3 separate regions of the Homo sapiens genome follow, and regions 1 and 2 are each linked to region 3. The links are contacts of gene promoters, found by promoter capture Hi-C in human tissues and cell types (Jung and others, 2019). All regions are on one chromosome and are shown on one strand. The core of a region is centred on a gene start or on the middle of the fragment in contact, and the rest is flanking DNA. Distances in the headings are between cores, read along the strand shown.

Region 1 (4,340 bases), core at 1,661-4,160, 240 kb before region 3:
TTACAAGGTCTCTTCCATTTCTAGTAGTTAAAATGAACTAGTAATTCTAAGGTCAAATATTTTAAGAGTACATTTGCCACTATAATAGTAAAGCTAAGAATACCACCATATGTTGAATTCTTTTACTACAAATAGCAGTTCGGCAAAAACATCCAAAATGGTCATTTTTTAAAAAACAAAGTGTAATATAAATAAATCTGCTGGAGTTCTAATCAGGATAGTGGAAGGGCTCAGGCTGTTCCTGGAAACTGAAACATGTGAATTAAGTTTCCGGAGTAGGATAAAGCCTTAACAATCAGAACAGAAATGTAGCTATCAAATTTTCTGTACTAAAAACTGCTGTCCTTAAAAAGTACAGCTGTTCTGTCTACCGATTACTTAATGAGGTGATTGCCAGGGCATTCTTTTTAACAACTTATGTATTTTAAAATTGTTAAAATTACACAACTGTTTCTCTTAAAACTGTTTTTGTTTAAATTCTAGCTCTAATATTTAGTAGCTAGGTGACCACAGGCAAATTACTTAATCTCAAATTTTTTACTTCCTCACCTGGGTGGGCTATAATATCTACTCCAATACTATTATAAGATTTAATTAACAAAGTGTGTATAAAGCTCTTAGAATAGTGTAAAGCCTGTAACAAAAACTTATTAAGTGGTAATCAATATTTGCAAAACTAATATATTAAAAAGAAAAACCCAAGCATAGATAATTTCTTCTCTTTTTTTTTGAGACAGAGTCTTGCTCTGTTGCCCAGGCTAGAGTGCAGTGGTAGGATCTCCGCCTCCCAGGCTCAAGCAATTCTCCAGCCTCAGCCTCCTGAGTAGCTGGGGTTACAGGCGCCTGCCACCACAACTGACTAATTTTTGTATTTTTAGTAGAGATGGGGTTTCACCATGTTGGCCAGGCTGGTGTCAAATTCCTGACCTCAAGTAATCCACCCACCTTGGCCTCCCAAAGTGCTGGGATTACAGGGTGAGCCATCGCTTCAGGCCCAAAGCATAGATAATTTCTTAGTCAACCTTTATTTATTATTTTCCTTTTCAACAGTTTTACTCTGTCACCCATGCTGGAGTGCAGCAGTGCCATCACTTTGCAACCCTGAACTTGAGCTCAAGTGATCCTCCTACCTCACCCTTCTGAGGAGCTAGGACTACAAGTACATGCCACCCCATCCAGTTAATTGAACTTTGTTTTTTGCAAGGCCAAAGTATGTTGAATGTTATGAGAGTGAAAGAGAAGTACTTGCTCCAAGATGCTCATCTAGCATTATGAATTATGGTTAATCTTTTGGAGGACCAAAGGGTTGCCTTTAAAAGTCAGAATATTAATTTTAAATTTATTAAGTGTAGAGAATTGGTTAACATCCCTCCGTATCATTGGCCCTCTTCTTCTACCACTGAAATATCCAGTCTTAAGACATGTAAACCTATTTCCTTCCTTCTCTTCTTTTATTATTTTATTTTATTTTATTTAAATTCCCCGGCCAGGCGCAGTGGCTCACGCCTTGTAATCCCAGCACTTTGGGAGGGCGAGGCAGGTGGATCATTTGAGGTCAGTTCAGGACCAGCCTGGCCAACACGGTGAAACCCCATCTCTACTAAAAATACAAAGATTAGCCAGGTGTGCTGGTACACACCTGTAATCCCAGCTACTCGGGCTGCTGAGGCAGAAGAATTGCTTGAACCTGGGAGGCAGAGGTTGCAGTGAGCCAAGATCGCACCACTGCCTCCAGCCTGGGCGACAGAGAGAGACTCTGTCTCTAAATAAATAAATAAATAAATAAATAAATAAAATTAAAAAAATTCCCCTACCCTCTTGCTTTTAATAAGAAACAGGGTCACCTTAATGTTGTCCAGGCCGGAGTGCAATGGCTATCCCACTACTGATCAGCATGGGAGTTTTAACCTGCTCTGTTGCCAACCTGGACCAGTTCACCCCTCCTCAGGCAACCTGTTAGTCCCCCACTCCCAGGACACCCTATTGATGCTGAATTTAGTGCAGACACTCAGTCCATATGTAGAACACAGTGCGCTACCCTCCACAACTCCTGGGCTCAAGAGATCCTTCCACCTCAGCCTTCCAAGTAGCTAAGACCACAGGCACATGCCACAACACCCAACTCCTTCTTTTTCTTTCTCCTACTTTCATTCTTTCTATGTTCAAGTTTGTCATAAATATAACAGTATAATCAAAATATTTTTTCTTTCTAATCAGAAAACAAATCATTCAGCATGGGTAGGCCATTCTTGGCTTTTTCCATCCCTCTTTAATAGTTATTTCTTCAAGAGAATTTCCCTGTCTCCAAAATGCCAGAAGACTCTAGTTCTACAGTTGGGAGATGTTTTATCTTTCTACATTCTGTATCCTAGTTGTGGGGGCTACAAAAATCCATACGTACTAAAACTTAAAGAACTGTACACCACAAATCAAATTTCCAAATATAAACTTAAAATTCACCTGTCTAAAGCCTCCTTTGTTTTCAATGTCCTCTGTTTTCAAAATAAAATGCCACTGTTCCATTTTCCTAACCTTCAGAAGTAACTGTGTACCTTCCCTATTGTGCTTCTTCAATTAAGAGCTATAAAATTTATATAGCTTTAATTATAAAACCTAACATTAAAAAGTTACTTATATATAAAACTACCAGCCACATGACCAAAAATCTAAATTTTAATTTAAACCCCAAAATTACAAAGTTTTTGGGTAAGATTAAATTGTGTTAAGTATTGTTTTACTCTTATCACTCTTCTTTGAAATATGATAAACTATGATATTTAATATAGTTTCTTGATTAATAAAAATATTTAATAAGCTACAATACAGATCTTTAAAGTACACTGGATAAATGAGAATTCTGTACTTGCCCAACCACCTAACCCATCTCAGCAAAAAGTTCAAAGCTTTTTGTTCCTTAGTGACCATTTCTCCAATTTCCCAATTGTTTTTGATGTTGTTCTAAATGTATCCTTAATATGTCTCCTTAAGGAGTCTTTCAGAGCATCCATTGCTCTCCATAGGGCCTTTATGTAACTAGGAAAAATACATCCTTCTGGGGAAATACAGACACTTTTGGCAAGGAGCTGATGCCTTGGAGAGAGAAGTGGAGGCACAGTTCCCTCTGCGAGGCCTAAGCTGGGGCACAGGACTCTGTAAGCAGAACACAGGCTGACTTGTTGCTTCCTTCAGTCCAGCATCTTTGGGCAGTATACAAGCTGCATAACCATATATAGCAGCCCTGTACCTTCAGATTGTTCACTGGCAAACAGGGAAGAAAAAATGAATTATTAACTTATCTAGATACCCATTCTCCAACCACATACATGTATCCATCTCTTATCCTTCAGACTCAAGATTTATTCAGAAGGGATCTTCCAACCTTATAGGGAACGTATCTTCCCCTTTATCTTTAATTTTCCCTTTTCGTGGTTCTCTTTTCTGCTTTAAATATGGTCAAGACTCATGTCTTGATATTGTGTAATATCAAAGAATATTAAATTCAGAAGATATATAGAAATACATAAATGTACTCTTTGCAATAGTCCTCTGAGATAGGGGAAATGGATATTATCCTTGTATCACAAATCAATATATTTAAAACTTAAGCCAGGTTAACTTGCCCCAAAATTAACAGCTGGCACAAAGTGACAAAAAGGACTAAACCTAGGTTTTAAAACAATTAGTCTAGAGTCCACTTTGAGTATTCAATATATCTAAAAATCAAGAGATTTTCCCTCTTCCCCCTTTAACCTTCCACTTTTGTAACTTGACCTAGATTATTTTAAGGTCACCAAGGATATCACAGCCAAATCCAAAGACTACTTGTCACATATTTTTCTGAACTCTGCTACATTTAGCTCTAATAATCCTGTTTTTAGATTATCCTCTTCTGCCCTGATTTCTATAGTGACTTCCTTCTTATTTTGTCTTGTTCTTCCCTTGCCATAGACTGTCCTAGACATCCTATTACATTTCTCTATCTAAATAAACCTACTCCTTTGCGGTTTATCATGAAAGTGGTTGTCTCAAGTATGTAGTTAAGACTAATTCATATCTCTATTCCTGTAATGCTGCCATTTCCTATTTTATCAATCTATTCCATTCTAGGCTTTCGACCTTCATTAACTGTACCTGTGGCCTGATCCTATCCAGTATTCATTTCTTATAGCAGTAATGTCCCAAAGGGTGGAATACAAAGACTGGTAGTATACTGGATGATTTTAAGTGATCCACAGAAAATTATGTAAAATCATGTTTATTTTAAAACATGTTGGGGGGAAGCTAATGCCAAATAATCATAAAAATTTCCTTTTAAACGGCAGGATGCAGTGGCTCACGCC
Region 2 (4,141 bases), core at 955-3,454, 180 kb after region 3:
TATCTGGGGAAGGGAGTAGGGAAACTTGGGAACTGCAGAGCTGGGCAGGTGTCTGGTACTTTCTAATTGTGGCTAAACAAATTAAAACATTGCAAAGAATTTTTAGAAGTCAACGTTAATGCTTTGACAGAAAAATATTTTAAAAATATTTCTTCATTTGGTAAAGAGTTAATCCATGTTTGAAATACCTGTAAGTTCCTCTGAATGCATGGGTTCCGTTTACTGGAAACTTTTCTGGAGTAATTAGAGAATATTTCATGGTCAAGGTTACTCTATGAATTGTTTTAGTAAATATATCTGTAAAGTGATGGACATTTTATTATCAAGAAATGAACTAAAATACTCATGATTTATGTCATTAATTTGTGTGGCTGTCAGGCCCTATTGATTTATATCCTCTGTATCTTGTTGAAGCACACTGTGAAACCCCTTCCCTAGCTTGTTTACAGCAATGAACGTCTTGCTTATTTAAAGCCACTGCCAGCCCAGACAACTTCTATTGCTTAGAATTATTCTTCCAGTCACCCATTACCCTCTATTAAAAAGGCTTTTTTCCTCTCTTTTTAGAAAACTACTCTTGACTACAATTATAACTCCCTGATGGGAGGCCTTCCTCTATAACTGACGTCCTGAAGGAAAATTTTACCTTGAGACATTTTTCATATACATAAGTGGTAAAAGAAGAGAATAAAAGGAAGGGAAAAAAGACAGTAACAGAAATCAAGCTGTAAATGGGACCCCAAAATACCAGGAACTAAATTATCTGACATTGTGGAATAACTTAGTAACTCTTGGCCTCATAAATATATTTCTAAGTAGCAATTCAATTCAAACCAATATATTAATATTATAGAACTGTGGTTTCTACATTCTTTGACTAAGAACTTCCTAAAAGAGTCCCTCCCTCCCTCCCTCCCTTCTCACCTTCCTTCCTTCCTTTTTTTTCTTTCCTTTCCTCCCTTTCTTTTTTCTTTTTCTTTTCTTTTCTTTTTCTTTCTTTCTTTCCCACAACGTTTTACTCTGTTGCCCAGGCTGGAGTGCAGTGGTGAAATCATGGCTCACTGCAGTCTCAACCACCACGGGCTTAGGTGATCCTCCCACCTCAGCTTCCTGAGTAGATGGGACCACAGGCACATGCCACCATGCTTGGCTAATTTTTGTATTTTTTGTAGAGAAGGAGTTTCACCATGTTTCCCAGGTTGGTCTTGAACTGGGCTCAAGCGATCCACCTGCCTCAGCCTCCCAGAGGGCTGGGATTACAGGTGTGAGCCACAGTGCCTGGCCTAAAAGGAATATTTCTTACCATTCTTTTTCCAAAGTGTAGATTCACAGTTTGACTAGATTGATTTCGATGTCACTGTAAGGTGGTAGAGGAAGAGGTACAGAGAAGGTCCCATTTGTAAACCAAAAAGTATCTGAGACAGGACTCAATCAATTTAGAATTTTATTTTGCCAAGGTTAAGGACCATGGCCAATGATACAGCCTCAGGAGGTCCTGAGAACATGGTGTATACATTTTAGGGAGACAGGAATTAAAGGCAAAGACATAAATCAATACATGTAAGGTATACACTGGTTTGGCCTGGAAAGGTGGGACATCTTGAATGGGTGGGAGAGGTGGGCTTCCAGGTCATAGGTGGATTCAGAGCTGTTCTGATTGGCAATTGGGTGGAAGAGTTAAGCTCCACATGAAGACTTGAACTCAGCATAAAGAAATGCTTGAGTTTAGATAAAGGGTTTGTGGTAACCAAGGTTCTTGTCATAGAGATGAAGCCTCCAAGTAGCAAGCTTCAGAGGGAATAGATGGCGAATGTCTCTTATCAGAACGTAAAAGGTGTCAGACTCTCAAAAAAAAAAAAAAAAAAAACAGTAAGGGAAAGAGACTCTCTACAGAATGCAAATCTTCCCCACAAGAGACAGATTTTCAGGGCCATTTCAGAATTTGTCAAATAAATATATTTTGGAGTAGAATACTTATTTTCCTTCAGAGCCTGTTATCTGTCATGTATATCAGAGTCAGGTTGGAATTGTTTTATTGCTATGGAGTCTGTTTTGTCAGTCTTGAGTTTGCTAGTTAGTTGCATCTAAACTCCAAAGAGAGGAGTGAACAATGAGGCATGTCTGACCTTCCACTTTCCATCATGGCTTGAACAAGTCTTTAAGGTTTCTTCGGGGTTCCCTTGGCCAAGAGGGGGTCCATTAAGACAACTGGGGGACTTGGAATTCTATTTTTTGTTTACACATTGAGGAGGAATCAGAAGAGTCTACTGAAAACAGAGCATACGACAAAATTGCTAATTTTATCACAACTCTCCAATGAGAATATCGGTAATTTAATTATTTGAGGATTCAATTTTTGCAACTTACTCTGTCCTTATGGGTGTTGGAGGACAGAGTGGGATGTTGATTTTTGTAATAGATATAATATTGTATTTTGAAATGTTCAACATGCCAAGGAAATGCAAAGTCCCACCTGTCATTCCTGTTGTCACAGTCTTGATAGAAGCCCTCATGCAACCTTGCTTTCAATATCATAGTGGCAGTGTAGCTGGCTTTCCTGACTACACTCTCCTTTCTTCTGCTGGCAACCTCCAGCAGATAGCCATCAAACCAATTTTTCCTGATAGCCTACTTTTATTAAGTCAAGAGACTACTCCAAATCACTACTTCACACTCAACATATGTAATATAAATTCCTGTGCATAACATGCTTTTATTATTTTTATTTATTTATTTATTTTTTGAGACGGAATCTCGCTCAGTCTCCCAGGCTGGAGTGCAGTGGCCTGATCTGGGCTCACTGCAAGCTCCGCCTCCCGGGTTGACGCCATTCTCCTGCCTCAGCCTCCCAAGTAGCTGGGACTACAGGCGCCTGCCACTACACCCGGCTAATTTTTTGTATTTTTAGTAGAGATGGGGTTTCACCATGTTAGCCAGGATGGTCTCGATCTCCTGACCTTGTGATCCACCTGTCTCGGCCTCCCAAAGTGCTGGGATTACAGGCGTGAGACACAGCACCCGGTCATAACATGCTTTTTAAATTTTGAAAATGTTTATATAGTTCCAGGGTTTTGTGCAAAGTGCTGAAGATTCAGTGACAAATATGACATAGCTCTTATTACAACAGAGCTCGTCGATTAGTGATGAGAAATCAGATGACTTCTTATTTCCTTTTCAATGACAGTGACTTGTTTAAAAGCATTCATTGAATCAGCATATATTTGAGTGCCAGATGACAGGCATCGTTCTTGAATTTAGGATTACAGTGGTGGACAAAATTGAATGCCCGTTTCATAGTGCTTACTTCTGGCTTGGATTACTCATAAAAGTTGCTTATAATGTAATAAAAAGCAAAAAGTCAAAATAAGTATTATATCCTATATCCTTCATTTTTACTCCCCAAAGGCAATCACTATTAATGGCTTTTGTGTATATTTCCAAAGTTTTCTGTCTATGCCAATATATATGTTTATTTTATTTTTGAGCAAAGGGCTCAAATTGTAACTCTACTTAATTTATTTAATCAAATCATATCTTAACATCTCTGAAATAGCGACATCTTATAATCAATGCTATATTATAGTTTTAATTGGCAGAATGTTTTCTTCTCTTTTTGTTACATAAAATGAGGGTGCGTCTTAATGTTGAGCCGATGAAATATAGTATTTTAATAGTAAAGGATTTGGCTATGAGTACAGAAAACCAACAGCATACCAGTTAGAGATGGTATGGTGTTTTCAGCCTAATTACGTTAGGCTGAAAGTAACAGAAATGAAAACCAACAGCTTAAAAAAGGAGTGTAATTTTTCTCACATAACAAGAAATTCTGGTGTTAGGAATGCAGGGCTAATGCATGGCTTTAATGTGCCAATGGGGCTCAAGCTCCTTTGTCTTTATCCTCCTCAGGGTAGTCAGAAGATGGTTCCTTCTCTTTCTGATGGTGCTACTACATCTAGGCAGGAAGAAAAAATGCTATCTACCTTTAACGCATTCTATATATAATGGCGGAGAAGAAACAGGATAAATGCAGGAAAAACTACCATTCAGAAAAGAGGAAGACGGGAAGACGGTGATCACCGGTTCATAGATATCGTCAAATCCTGCCAGGCAGGGATGGTAACTCTGGGCCCCAGCAGCAGAG
Region 3 (4,470 bases), core at 771-3,270:
GGACAGTAGATCATGAGAGGTCAAAACATGAGGTGACGCCTGTCATTACCAAACTGCAGCGGCACTCTGAGCTATTTTAAAATTTTGAAGAAGCACAGTGATTCTTGATGTCAGTTGAACACTATGCTAAGTATTAGCTGAAAGTAGTTAACAGTTTTAATATTGTAAAAGACTGTGTTCCATTTGCTGACATCATATCTTTGCAAAGCTGGGTGTTTGACAATTGCTATGACAAAAAGCAAGTATTGCATGAAAACTGAGGTAGAATAGAAATGAAGGGTTCATGTCTGATCTGATTCCAAGGTTTGAGAAGTTGTGCAGTGCTCAGCAGGCACATAAACCTTATTATTAAGTAATTGGGATTAAGAATGAAATAAAAATATTATTTTTCTTTTAGTTTGTATATTACTTGTTCAAAAAACTACAAAGTTGTTAGAACATAAATAGTTATTAAGTTTTTGTCTACTTAATAGGAGAAACTATGGTCTGGGGGCACCTTGAAGAAATTGCACACCAAGGGCTCCTTGAACCTAGAAAGTTGAAAACTTCTGGGCAAGAGTTTTATTTTCCGAGTTTATTTTATTGACCCGGAGATTTTATTTGTTGATGTCAAGAAAATGCATATTATACTATATTTGAGGCTAGCATTGTATCAATTAGCCAATGTTTAACTGTTTCCAGTGTGACTCACCTATGCATTTACTAGGAAGCCATTGGCACTGTCAGATTTGTATCCAGCCCTCTATTTATGCATTCCCCATCTTCTCCTCCTTCCCTACTCCCTCTGTCTCTCTCTCTCACACACACACATACACACACACACACACTCCTACACCTTAGTGCATGAAAATACTTCAGAATACTGGTTGGCACAGACTGCACAATGATACCCTATCCTCAAGTGGGTTGTGACATTTCAGGAGTAATCAGAGAGAGATTCAGCTGGATGGCAGTTGGGGTGGGTGAAGGTGCCTACTTAGCCCCTGGGAACAAAGGAGCACAGCTGGTAAGAAACTTGGGTCCAAGGAGGGCCATACTCTGGGATTTCTGTCCTCTAGCAGCAGCTCCTCATTTACTCAAATGTTCCTAACCACAACAAGCAAATAAAAATTCTCCCAGGCTTTAGGTCCTCTGTGCCAGTTACAAGGCCATAGCAGATTCCCTAGGATGCAGGGGAAACTCTAATAACCAAGGACTCAGTTTCTCCATCTGCAGAACAGATGGCATAGACCTGAATATCTAAAAATGATTTTCAAACCCTTGATGTTTATGATCTTGTGAATTTAACTGGAGCAGGATTAGTAAAAAAGATGTGCCAATCACATGGAAATCAATAAATTTTGACATAATACATAGAATGAAGCACGAAACACTTTTAACAACAGAAAAAAAGATGACATGACAGAACAGATTAGTCAAATTCTAAAGGGGCTTGCCTTTTGCTTCCCACTTGTGCCAAATGCCAACATTTGGTAGTCACCCTTCAAAAACTATGATCTCAGACAATGTTAGAAGCTGCTGATGGAAGCACTAAAAAAAAAAAGAGACTTTTCCTCTTGCATTAGAAATCCAAGTTTTTCCCATTTGATTCAACCACTTAATAATCTACCCAACAGTATACTTACCTGTGTACATGGAAGACAGGTAAGTATACTGCTGGGTAGATTATTAAGTGGTTGAATCAATGATATTGTCCCATTATAAGTATCCAAACATTTACTACTCCTATACTTTGGGCCAAGGAGTAGCTTTATAGCTCCTCCAGGGTTGGACAGAGAAAGCTGCTTTCTGATAAGGTGGTTCTTCCCTGGAGCACAATAACAAAACAGGAAAACTCCAGACCCCACTTTCCTCATCCAAAGAAATCAGAGATTATATCTGGTTACTTACTTTACGTACTTGTAATTTCTGGTGCCAATGGCTCTGCCACGCAGGACTCTGGTATTAGCAGAGATCAAAATGAATCAGTATGAGCCAGTGCTGGCTTGGGAGTCCCCAGCACAGTGGATAAACCTGGTCTAAGAGATAAGGAATGTTAAATTTGAAACCCAAGGTTAGCCGTTGTTTATATTTTAACTTGTTGATTAATGCAACAGCGAAATGCTAGGAGAAACACTGTCTGGTGATATGTACTTTAGACTCACTCTTCTGCTTACAGACTATAAACTAAGTTAGGGAGTTACACCAGCATCCTCACTTGTTCATCAGTTTTATTCTTTAAGGGGATGAGAATAAAATAAGACAATTATGTTAACAGTTACTACACCACAGATTCACTTTTAAGGGCTTTGATCCATTTCACCTTTAGGGACAATTATTATTTTTAAAAAATCATATATTACTCACATTAGTAAACTCAATTTGTAAAGGCTTTTTAAGTGCAGCTGATTGCCCAAGCACTTGGGAAATAAAAGACAGGTATATGGGAGGAGTCTGATCTTGGGAATCACAAGTCCTGGGTTCGAGTATTGCGTTCACCAGCTATTATCAGAGTCATGTTGGAAAAATTGTATAACTTTTCTCAGCTTTAGTTTCCTCAATTTAAAATAGGCATGATCGAGTGGCTGCCAGGGGCTGGGGAAAGAAGGGAATGGGGAAGGATTGCTAATGAGTATGGAGTTTTCTTTTGGGTGTGATGAAAGTGTTTTGAAACTGGATAGAGGTTGTGGTTACACAGCATTATGAATGTACTAAATGCCACTGAATTCTATACTTTGAAATGGTTAACGACAGATTGTTGGAAAATGGTGGATAGGAGGCAGGACTAACTTGCAGTTTCCACGCAGACAGACAGAACAGCATGTGGAGACTCACACAGTGAAATTTTCCTCCAAGAAGTACTGCATGAACATACCAGGAAAACCAAAAGAATTCACAGGACCTTTGAAAGAAGTGGCTTGCCGCTGCAAACTCCATGAGACAGCTGAAAAACTGTGAGTGCCCAAAGTGTGAGTGGGGGAAAAAATCTGCCTCCAAACACGCAAACCCACTAGGGAACCTAAAAATCCAGATCACAGGAGAAGGATTTAACCTTACCTAGAGCTGGGATGAATTTAGAGAGCAAAACGAAATATAAAAGTAGAAGCAGTGGGAAGAGCCCTGTAGGTACTCTTGGTGCCCAGGGAAGTCATTTCTGACTTTATCTCACAGGGGTCCTTGAGGAGGGCTGCCAGTGAAATTGAGGAAGGACCACAGGGAGAAGGAAACTTCCAGCTGAACTTTGTAATAGTTTTGACTATTAGCCTGAGAAACACGAATACTTATCCAGGAGACCTTAGGGCAATCTTGCATTCTCCCTATACTACCGCAGCTGATGCTGTCTTGAAAATGAGGAAAAGGAGTCATTATACAAAAAAGATACTTGAACACACTTGTTTATAGCAGCACAATTTGCAATTGCAAAAAATGAAACCAGCCAAAATGCCCATCAATCAATGAGTGGATAAATAATTCGTGGTATATACATACCATGGAATACTACTCAGCCATAAAAAGGGATGAAATAATGGCATTCACAGCAACCTGGATGGAGTTGCAGACCATTATCCTAAGTGAAGTAACTTGGGAGTGGAAAACTGAACATTCTATGTTCTCACTCATAAGTTGGAGCTAGGCTATGAGAATACAAAGGCATAAAAATGATACAATGGACTTTGGGGACTTGGGGGTAAGTGTTGGAGTGGGGGGTGATGCATAAAAGACTACACATTGGGTATAGTGTACACTGCTCAGATGATGGGTGCACCAAAACCCACAAATCACCATTAAAGAACTTATCCAGGTAACAAAACACCACCTGCTCCCCCAAAAGCTATTGAAATAAATAAAATAAAAAATTCTAAAAAATAAATAAAACAGGCATAATAACATCTGCATCAGATAGTTGTGGTGGGGATTAGATGAGATAATCTATGTCAAGAGATTTGTGTATATATAGTAAATACTGTGTATGATTGTAATGATGATAATGATGATGATGATGATGCTGTCATTGTTGGACCAGATAAGGTGTCTTGATTGCTGGTTCATAACACTGAAATGACTCCCACAGGTACAGAGAATAAATTCCATGAGAGGTTGGTGGACTGAAGCAGAGAGAAATTTCTGAAAGAATATGTCTTTTTCCTTGATTTTCAACATGGTATAACCCTTTGACCTGGAGGTCCTGTGTATCACTGAGTATACTGCTTGCTCATTGGGCTCACCTTTTGCCTCATTTCTGGCTTATTAAGTATTCAGCACAGAGACAGCATTGTTAGCTCTGTGAAATTCAGCTGCTTTGCTGCAGCTATGAAAATAATAATATTTGGATGATTTCAAGCTTAATTATACCCAGAGAGTAAGCCTTTAAAATGACTATTAGTTCAAGTATGTTTTCAAAAATCAGAATATGTTTGATTTGTAATTTACCTTGGTGTGCAGCATATACACATCAAGGTAAGTATGTAAGTACTGGGATTTGGTACACTA

The links. Contacts are between HindIII fragments. The study calls those that stand out against the background at their distance.
Region 1: a fragment that was not itself captured here is called in contact with the fragment with the promoter of FMO1 in region 3 in 1 of the 25 tissues and cell types used here (thymus).
Region 2: a fragment that was not itself captured here is called in contact with the fragment with the promoter of FMO1 in region 3 in 1 of the 25 tissues and cell types used here (bladder).

Annotation. Positions count from the first base shown.
Region 1 is chr1:171,490,194-171,494,533 of GRCh38, reverse strand. The region is part of intron 1 of PRRC2C (proline rich coiled-coil 2C); the gene reads right to left. It also overlaps the pseudogene RN7SL425P. Among named protein-coding and RNA genes, the nearest start is that of PRRC2C, 6.8 kb to the right of the region's middle. The HindIII fragment of the contact is 3,277 bases long and covers 1,272-4,340 here.
Region 2 is chr1:171,071,006-171,075,146 of GRCh38, reverse strand. No RefSeq gene overlaps it. Among named protein-coding and RNA genes, the nearest start is that of FMO3, 18 kb to the left of the region's middle. The HindIII fragment of the contact is 4,905 bases long and covers 1-4,141 here.
Region 3 is chr1:171,246,044-171,250,513 of GRCh38, reverse strand. It overlaps FMO1 (flavin containing dimethylaniline monoxygenase 1), which reads right to left and starts at 2,020. Exons shown (of 9, transcript NM_001282693.2): 1 at 1,891-2,020. FMO1-AS1 (FMO1 antisense RNA 1) reads left to right here. Exons shown (of 5, transcript XR_922278.4): 2 at 2,787-2,933. The HindIII fragment of the contact is 7,695 bases long and covers 1-4,470 here.